3 separate regions of the Homo sapiens genome follow, and regions 1 and 3 are each linked to region 2. The links are contacts of gene promoters, found by promoter capture Hi-C in blood cells and fetal thymus (Javierre and others, 2016). All regions are on one chromosome and are shown on one strand. The core of a region is centred on a gene start or on the middle of the fragment in contact, and the rest is flanking DNA. Distances in the headings are between cores, read along the strand shown. Region 1 overlaps MYOT (myotilin). Region 2 holds the start of NME5 (NME/NM23 family member 5). Region 3 has its middle 30 kb from the start of MYOT.

What was found. Contacts are between HindIII fragments. The CHiCAGO score rates a contact against its expected background, and 5 or more counts as called.
Region 1: a fragment that was not itself captured here is called in contact with the fragment with the promoter of NME5 in region 2 in 1 of 17 cell types (M2 macrophages); the score reaches 5.7 in M2 macrophages.
Region 3: a fragment that was not itself captured here is called in contact with the fragment with the promoter of NME5 in region 2 in 1 of 17 cell types (total B cells); the score reaches 5.8 in total B cells.

The regions. Positions count from the first base shown.
Region 1 is chr5:137,872,881-137,875,870 of GRCh38, reverse strand. MYOT (myotilin) reads right to left here. Exons shown (of 10, transcript NM_006790.3): 3 at 1-42. All of the region lies in intron 2 of PKD2L2-DT (PKD2L2 divergent transcript), which reads left to right. Among named protein-coding and RNA genes, the nearest start is that of MYOT, 6.5 kb to the right of the region's middle. The HindIII fragment of the contact is 3,098 bases long and covers 1-2,990 here.
Region 2 is chr5:138,137,944-138,140,727 of GRCh38, reverse strand. It overlaps NME5 (NME/NM23 family member 5), which reads left to right and starts at 1,300. Exons shown (of 6, transcript NM_003551.3): 1 at 1,300-1,357; 2 at 1,943-2,076. The coding sequence starts at 1,948. It overlaps BRD8 (bromodomain containing 8), which reads left to right. Exons shown (of 27, transcript NM_139199.2): 26 at 1-23; 27 at 562-958. The coding sequence ends at 654. The HindIII fragment of the contact is 15,003 bases long and covers 1-2,784 here.
Region 3 is chr5:137,836,474-137,839,308 of GRCh38, reverse strand. No RefSeq gene overlaps it. Among named protein-coding and RNA genes, the nearest start is that of MYOT, 30 kb to the left of the region's middle. The HindIII fragment of the contact is 200 bases long and covers 1,443-1,642 here.

The sequences.
Region 1 (2,990 bases), core at 234-2,733, 270 kb after region 2:
GGCTTTGCATTTATAGGTTGGCCAGCTGAGGACTGTTGATAGCTTTAAAAAGGAAAAAGAAAAGATTTTTAAAAAGAAGGTCTTGGCCTCATTTTGCAAATTACCTTTAGATATGTTGAGTTTACCACTTAGTACTACTAGTATTATTAAAAACAAATTGCCCTAATAACAGTCAAGAAATATTTTATAAGAATGGTTACTATCTTTTTTTTTTCCTTTTGGCAAATGGAAATTAAGTGTCAGGAGGAAGAATTTAGATTAGACATAAGGAGGATGTCCTTCCTTGAAGATATTCCCTAAGGAATGTGAGAGTAAGTCTAGTTAGTGGCAGCTTGAGAGCTCTTCCAATCTTATGAGTAATTTCTTTAATAAAATTTTTTTTTAGATTCTGGGAGTACATGTGCATGTTTGTTACATGGGTATATTGTATGATGCTGGGGTTTGGCCTTCTAATGATTCTGTCACCCAAGAGGTGAACATAGTACCTGATAGTTAGTTTTTGAACCCTTTTCCACCTCTTTCCCTGCTTTCGGGATCTCCAGTGTTTATTGTTTTCATCTTTGTGTTCATATGTACCCAATGTTTAGCTCCCACTTATAAATGAGAACATGCTCTATTTTATTTTCTGTTTCTGTGTTAGTTTGCTTAGGATAGTGGCCTCAAGCTGCATCCGTGTTGCTGCAAAGGACGTAATTTTGTTCTTTGTTATAGCTACGATGACCGAATTTCTTGTTTGATTTATGGGTAGATATTAAGTGGTGGTATTCTGGAGCTGGTTCATATGGGCTGATTTTTAGCATCTTTTCCCAGCTTCCTATGATTTCATGTTATAGTTTGAAATTGGTTGTGGTGGAAATATTTACACCAGGGAAATCGGTAAATATCACAAATAATGGCTCTTTTGTCCAGTGATTGTTAGACATTTACCAGCACACCACTGGCTTTTAGTGAATAATCTTTTGCTTTGAATGGAGTCTACACAGTCATTGACTTTCCTGTAATTTCCAATTCCTATTAATTTCATATTCTAGAAAATCCAAGTATGGCACTATATAACAGCAAATAACTTCTAAAGTAATGACAGTTTCTTCAATACTACTGAAGTGATTTTTAGAGAAAAAATGGGATGATTTGAGGAAGGAGAAAGAAATGTAAACTGGAAAAAAGCAAATAAAGTCTTTATTTCAAATTTTGATCCTAAATTTTTTCTATGATGTCCTTGCCCCTCCCGTATTTCCCTTGTTGATTCTGATAGAGGATAGGGTGGTATTTAGAGAGTCCTGTATTTTTAGATCTGTTAGGTAGCTTAAATGTATCACAGTGCTTTATTCAGTTTTTACCTAGTTTATCCATTCAGAGCCCTGCAGGGGCTAATCTTTATTTTTAATTTTTATTTATTTTTTTGAGATGGAGTCCCGCTCTGTTGCCCAGGCTGGAGTGCAGTGGCGCGATCTCGGCTCACTGCAACCTCTGCCTCCCGGGTTCAGGTGATTCTCCTGTCTCAGCCTCCCAAGTAGCTGGGATTACAGGCACCCGCCACCATGCTCAGCTAATTTTTGAATTTTTAGTAGAGACGGGGTTTTGCCATGTTGGCCAGGCTGGTCTCAAACTGCTGACCTCTGGTAATCTGCCTGCCTGGGCCTCCCAAAGTTCTGGGATTACAGGCTTGAGCCACCGCACCCGGCCTGCAGGGACTAATCTTTATTAATCTATTTAATGTGAGGAAACTAGCCACTGCCCTCAATGAGTATTTTACCATTATTATAATAAATGTTCTCTGGCTATCCAGATGAGACAATCTTGGTCTCTTCTCTGAAATGATCCTTTCCAAATATTCTCAAGGATCATTAAAAGGACTTGTGAGCTAAGTATAAATGTATTTCCTCCAAGTAGGGCCAGAGTTTTAATTTTTACTGGCTTTGGGAACTTGGTTAGTAATCATTAGATTGTAAACATTCTGGAGAAAAAATATGTCTTATTTGTTATCATTATATCATTTATATCCACGAACACAGAGCATGGGTATAGGAGATACTATCAGTTGAGTGAATGAGTGATTTTCATAGTATTCAGGACACTCTATTGAAAGCTAATGATACACATTTCCTCTCCTGACATTTCAGGTCTTAAGATCTTTATGGTTGTCTATATAAATTTTTAAAGTCTGATTTGTTCAGTTAATAGCCAAACAAAATGTTTTTTAAAATAGCGATTTTTTTTTTAAAGATTGAATTCCTAGATCAAAGTGTCAAAATCTCTTTGGCCTTATAGATCTCATATTTTTTCAATCGTATAGAATTATAATAGACCACTTTTTTTTTTTTGAGACGGAGTTTCATTCTTGTTGTCCAGGCTGGAGTGCAATGGCATGGACTTGGCTCACTGCAACCTCTGCCTCTCTCTATGTCTCCCGGGTTTAAGCGATTCTCATGCCTCAGCCTCCCAGGTAGCTGGGATTATAGGTGCCTGCCACAACACCCTGCTAATTTTTTTGTATTTTTTTTTTAGTAGAGACAGGGTTTCACCATGTTGGCCAGGCTGGTCTCAAACTCCTGACCTTGGGTGATCCATCCACCTTGGCCTCCCAAAGTGCTGGGATTACAGGTGTGAGCCACACCTGGCCTAGCCTACTGTTTTTTTTTTTTTTAAAAATGCTAGCTTATCATCTTTATAAGTCACACATTTGTTAATGTGAATTAGCATTAAATAATTGTTTTTAGACTTGTCATATCTGGGAAATTCTGAATATATCTGAGAAGTCCTGAAGGATTATCAAAACCAATCCTGAGAATCACTGATGTATATGTAACCTCAGTCACTTTGTTCACTGAATACTCTCATTATTCCCAGTTTAGGTGGATTAAGTGTTACGACTTGATAAATGCTCCCATTTACAAACTAATAGTACGTTTGCACACTGCTTTATAGGTCCTTTCTCTATCATTAATTACCTAACTCTTTAATATTGCTACAGACCAGAAAATTGAAGC
Region 2 (2,784 bases), core at 51-2,550:
AAGAAGTCCTGGAGCAGATTCAGGTACTGTATGCAGATACCTGTAGCCTCTGGAATCTTGATTTCAGAACGCCTATGAGAATAAAGGTGATTTCGAGGTGACTGTGTTCTCAGAGTTTATTTTTAAAGGTGATTAAGGCCCTGAAGGATTGATAATGTGCCTGCTGGTTTGGAAAACCCTGAGCCTCAGTAAGTCCAGCTCTGATAGTGAAGTAGTCTAGGAATGCAGGCAGCAGTGAAGAGCTCTCAAGAGAGCTGAGGATAGACAAGTAATGGGAATTCCCGCTTCCAGAGCCTCAAGTCAAGGGCTAAACTCCAAAGAGGCTGGAGTCACTGTGTATTTTTTGGTTGCTTCATCTGTTGTTATTAATGTACGTTCACACTTTCCCATCTTTAGGGGATAAGATATAGTAGCTAGAAGACATTTGTGGGTTTCTTTTCTGGGTAGCATCATACTTTAAAGAAAAAAGTATAGTTGAGTCTATTTGCCAAAAAAATAAACTTGCAATACTTTAGTGTTTAAGGTTCATAATAGCTTGCTATGTGTTCCTTAACCCTTTAGGTACTGAATATCTGGTTAGACAAAAGAAAAGGCTCAAGTAGTCTGGAAGGAGAACCAGCTAACCCAGTGGATGATGGAAAACCTGTTTTCTAACCTGGAGCTGCTATCCTGACTTTTTCTAGAGTTTGAATCTCTCCCGGAACTCTGACCTAGAGAGGATCCTGGTACTTCTTTGCCATGTCCTCATTTTCTTTTCCAACAAGAATAATACCTTAACTCACAACCAACGAGTCAAAGATGCATGTGGACATAATATAAAGAAAAAAAGGGGAAGCTGAGGTTTGGATTTATGCCATAAATGTTGCCCACATCTTTGTTCCATCGGCTTGATTTAAAGACAATTCCATTAGATCTTTTCTAAGCCTTTTACTCTATAAATAAATGTATTTACACAATAGGAATATTGCTTTTTAATGACTAGATAAGCTGGGCATAGAGGGCACAGCATCATCTGGTGAAACGAAGGTATCTGACACGGGTCATTTACATATACCGCCTGGAAAGGAATGGTTGGGGGAGGGGTTCTTATCATTTATAGAGTAGGGATAATTGAAGCATCCTTCAAACGGGAAGAAGGATGAAATAAGATAAATTATGAGTAAAATGTCAGAAAACATCTAGTGCTCTAAGATTCACAAGGAGAATAAAAGTGACTGGCTGGCTCCCTTTGGTTAAAACGAACTGGCCAGAAGCTGCAAGGTTCCTTGCTGGGATTGGCTCTCTGCAGCCACCGTCCCCACGCTGGGGCTTCAGGTCTCCTAGCAACAAGTTGTACCATATGAGGACGGCCGCTGAGGTGAGTACTTAGAGAGGGTCAAATTCAGAATTTGCAGGTGCAACCCGGAAAGTCCCCGCGGACCTAGAGGCCCTGCTTTTCAATTAGCCTGACCCTATGCACAGAGAGGTCCCTGCGGGACAGGGTCGCTTCACAGAGGCAGCTGGCCGAGGCCGCTCACCCGCCGCTGTAATGGTGTGTGGTTGCCCACCAGCCACCGTCCCCTCGAGCCCCCACCACCCGCTCTACCGCCCCCTCGAGCCCCCACCACCCGCCCCACCGCCCTCTGCTGCCTGGGGCTGTTGCTGGTTCCAGGCCTTCGGGTCGCCCCTTGGCCTCTGGTTATGTGAGCCCATAGTCCTTCCTGCCTTGGTGACATCGTATACGAAAAGCCGGGGCTCGATTTGGACATAGTAGGAATCCTATTATTGAGACCCTGTATATAGAAAAACATGGCAGTTTCTACCTTCATCAGTTAATAAAATCAAGTACCTACTATTGCTATTCTTAATCATAATTACATTGAATTTGCGATGGGGGTGGGGGGAAATGCATGTCATTGCAGTTGATACCTGTTAAGAAACTCTTAATTTGTGCCCTGAAAAGCCATAATGGAGATATCAATGCCTCCACCTCAGATATATGTAGAAAAAACTCTGGCCATTATCAAACCAGATATTGTTGACAAAGAGGAGGAGATACAAGATATTATTCTTAGATCCGGATTCACCATTGTTCAGGTAACTTCTGGGTATGATGATTCATGCTTTTTTCCTCTCTGCCCTTAAAAAAAAAATGCTTATGTAAATGTGCCTACCCATTTAAACCCTTAGTGTTCAGCATTAAATTTAAGTTTATTCTTCTAAGTATAAAAGTTATATGTGATAGTTTTTAAAAGGATGTAAAATGAGAAATAAAATGGACTTTTCCTTCACCTGTCCTCTTTTACCCCAAGTCCCAGGCTCCAGAGAGAGGCAACCACTTAACACTTTCTGTTCTTCCAGGAGTTTTCTATGCATTTATAAACATTTTCCCCCCATAAAACAGAACAGTCCCTTTCCCTTGACCCCTTTACAGAGTCCCTCAGATAGGATTCCAGATCATTGCATCTGAATTGATCTCACTCTTCCTAATTTCTGTGTAATATTTCCCTGTGTATTAGAACTACAATTTATTTACTTGATCTTCTATTGATGGAATTTTAGGCTATTGGTACTTTTTTCAGTTATGGCATAACATTTAATGTTTTAAGCCTTATGTTCTGCAATTAGTAAACATTGTCATTCTAGGGGTTTGAAAGTGAATATAAATAGCATTGTTAAGGATAAATCAAATAGAATTGAATATTTTTAATCTTCCTCTTTTATAGTTTTTTTTTCTTTTTTTTGAGACAGAGTCTCCCTCTGTAGCCCAGACTGGAGTGCAGTGGTACGATCTCGGCTCACTGC
Region 3 (2,835 bases), core at 293-2,792, 300 kb after region 2:
TGGTATGAATGTCTTGGAGTATTTGGTGTGCTCAGAGTATTGTACTTATAATTGCCTGACATGAAATGTTTTCTAATCATTGACATGATACCAGGGTGTGAAGAAATATATCCTGGGAGGTCAAATCCACTTTCAAAATAAAAGTTCCTTCTTTGTTATCTGTCCTAGTAAGTGAATGGAGTTCTGGCTTATTCTACAGAACATACAGGAATTACCAATGTCAGAAACTTAGGATATAGCAAAATACAGTCAGTGCTAAAACTACTGAGTATAATTTAATTCTTTTGATGCATAAGGCATTTTTAGGGACTTGGGTGATCCACACAAATGAATTTTCCTGAAAATTGAAATAAACCTATTACTGCAAAAATATTTTTAAAAATAAAAGTAGTAAATGCTTAAGGACAAAAATTCTAAAAATTCAGAGTACCGAAGGTACAAAGTGAAAGGTACAACTGACCTTTCCAAATCCCCAATTTCTACTATTAACAGTTTCTTGTATATCTATACAGAAAATTTATCTGCATATTCAGCTCTGTGTATAATTTTATTTTTTTCACAAATGGGATCATACTATAGTGGAATTACAGGGGATAAAATAATATTCATTTTATATTTTAATAGTTACAGCTAAATTGCCCTTTTATTAAATGGTACATTCTCAGTAGTTATTTGAGAATAACTTCCTCAATGCTTCTTATAATATATCCCATTGTTTTGTAAACTTGCTTTATTTTTCGTCATAAGTGAGGCTGTGCATCTTTTATGTGTTTATTGGTTGCTTCTGCTTTTCCTTCTTGTAAAATGCCTGTTGAGAACTGAATTATTTTCCCCTCTGGTAAAATGCCTCCAAATTGAACACAGAACATTAACGATGTATTTTTACAGCTACATTTTTACAATTAGACTCCATTAAAGGTGATTGTTCAACAACTAATAGTTTAAAATCTTGAGATTCTTTTTCATTTTTTAAAATATAATACATTGTCACACCAATGTCTAATACCAAGATGATGACATTTGGTGTTAACAGTTGTACTTTACCCAGTCTTTAGTCTAATTTGAACCTCATCCAAGTTTGGAAAATTCCTGAAGTGGAAAGTACCAACAATAAAAAGGGGTTTTGTGATAGTTGACTTCCCAGTCACTCCCAGCTCCGTCCAGACAGTACATACTTTCCTCCCACTTTGCTGATAAATAACCTTGGAAATAAATTTATACCCATGGGTATAATTCTATGAGTTTAGTGATCCTGCCTCTTTTTGTTATCTATACAGTTTCTATCATACTATGGCTGCTTAGGAAGTGTCTAAGAAAAACAACAATAATGCTGGTATTTGATTTGTCAGTTGTGGCTTGGGGCATCAGTGGGACATAGAGCAGAATTCTTGCTGAGGAATATGATCCTCACTTGATTCTAATTTTATCTTTGTGGTGAAGCTTTTAAATATGAGGACAGCTGATGTTGAATAAGTCTGTCCTCACAAGCTGTATGAGATTGAAATAAAATTAAATATTTGGGGTTAAATCCAAATGTAAAGATGTGGAAATGGCTGATTAGTCTTTTGATATTTCACTTTCTGCATCTTGGTAAAAAGGAACTGTTTGTTGTGAACTCCTAGCAACAGTCCAGTTTGAAGCTTATGATAAGCTAAATGTGTGCCTTAACTTAAGGTCTAACATTTTATAAAAGATGAAGTAGAGTTCCTACTTTTCACCCCAACCTCCACCCTGCTGATAAAATGATAGGCTATGCATACCTGATTTTGTTAGCGGCCTCTCTTTCTTTGTTTTTCTCCCTGAATAAAAGGTTTCTACTAATGAAATAGTGAGGCCCACACTTACACTTGGATTGGGGTAATGATCCTGTGTGGTCTTTGTAAGTTTGCAAATGATGAGACCCCAAACTCCTAGTAGATTCTTACCTAGGTGACTAAATGTATTGCTAATTGCTAAGGAATAAATAAATGGGTGTGCTCCAAGAATAGATTGCTGGCTCTTCTTCAGCTGACTGGATTACTAAGGTAGAAAAGCACTAAAAATAAATCAGGGCACAAATTCTTCTGCCAGGAACTGAGCATTGAGATAACTTGTCTGCCTGGTGGTGTTGACATCATCTGTTCTCCTAATGCACTGCATAAATAGGAGCCAGAATGAGAAATAGATTTGGCCATAAACTAGTGTCAGTAAAAGTCCTTAGCCCTTGTCCTGATATACCTATTGCTGCTTCTTGCCAGGTTTAAGTTAGTTAGTCCATCCAACTCCTCTAGGAGATAGCTAAGTACATCAAGGTGAGAACTCAAAACCAAACTCAGAGTCAATCTCAGGGGAAATAATTTGATTTCTTCTAGCTTCAAATATATTTTTGCTAGTTCTCTTCTGTCAGTTGGGTTTCAGTGTTTCCCCCAAGGGGTCAGATTTTAACAGAGTTGGAAAGGTGGGAAGGCATCTCAGGAAATCAGTTCTCTAGGACCTGAAGATTGCACCGTGATCCAGGTTCCCTGATGTGGAGTTAAGGATTCTTATCACTGAATTCCTCTTCTGTTATTACTTCAAATGTCCTGAGCAGAAAGCCTTAGCCAGTTATAATTAACCTATGGATCTCATGTGAACTAAAATGGGAGGAAATCCATGCAAATCCCTACCTTCTTTATATCTGAACCTACTTTCTTTTAGTTTTAGAGCAAGTTGCATTTAACTGGAATAATACTGTCTCACACTGATTAAGTCCTTGATGCTCACAAAATGCTTTCACACATTTATCTTGTGATCACAACAAGCCTGTAAGGAAGGCAGATGTTCTTATCCTCTTATTAACTGCTAGACTCAGAGAAG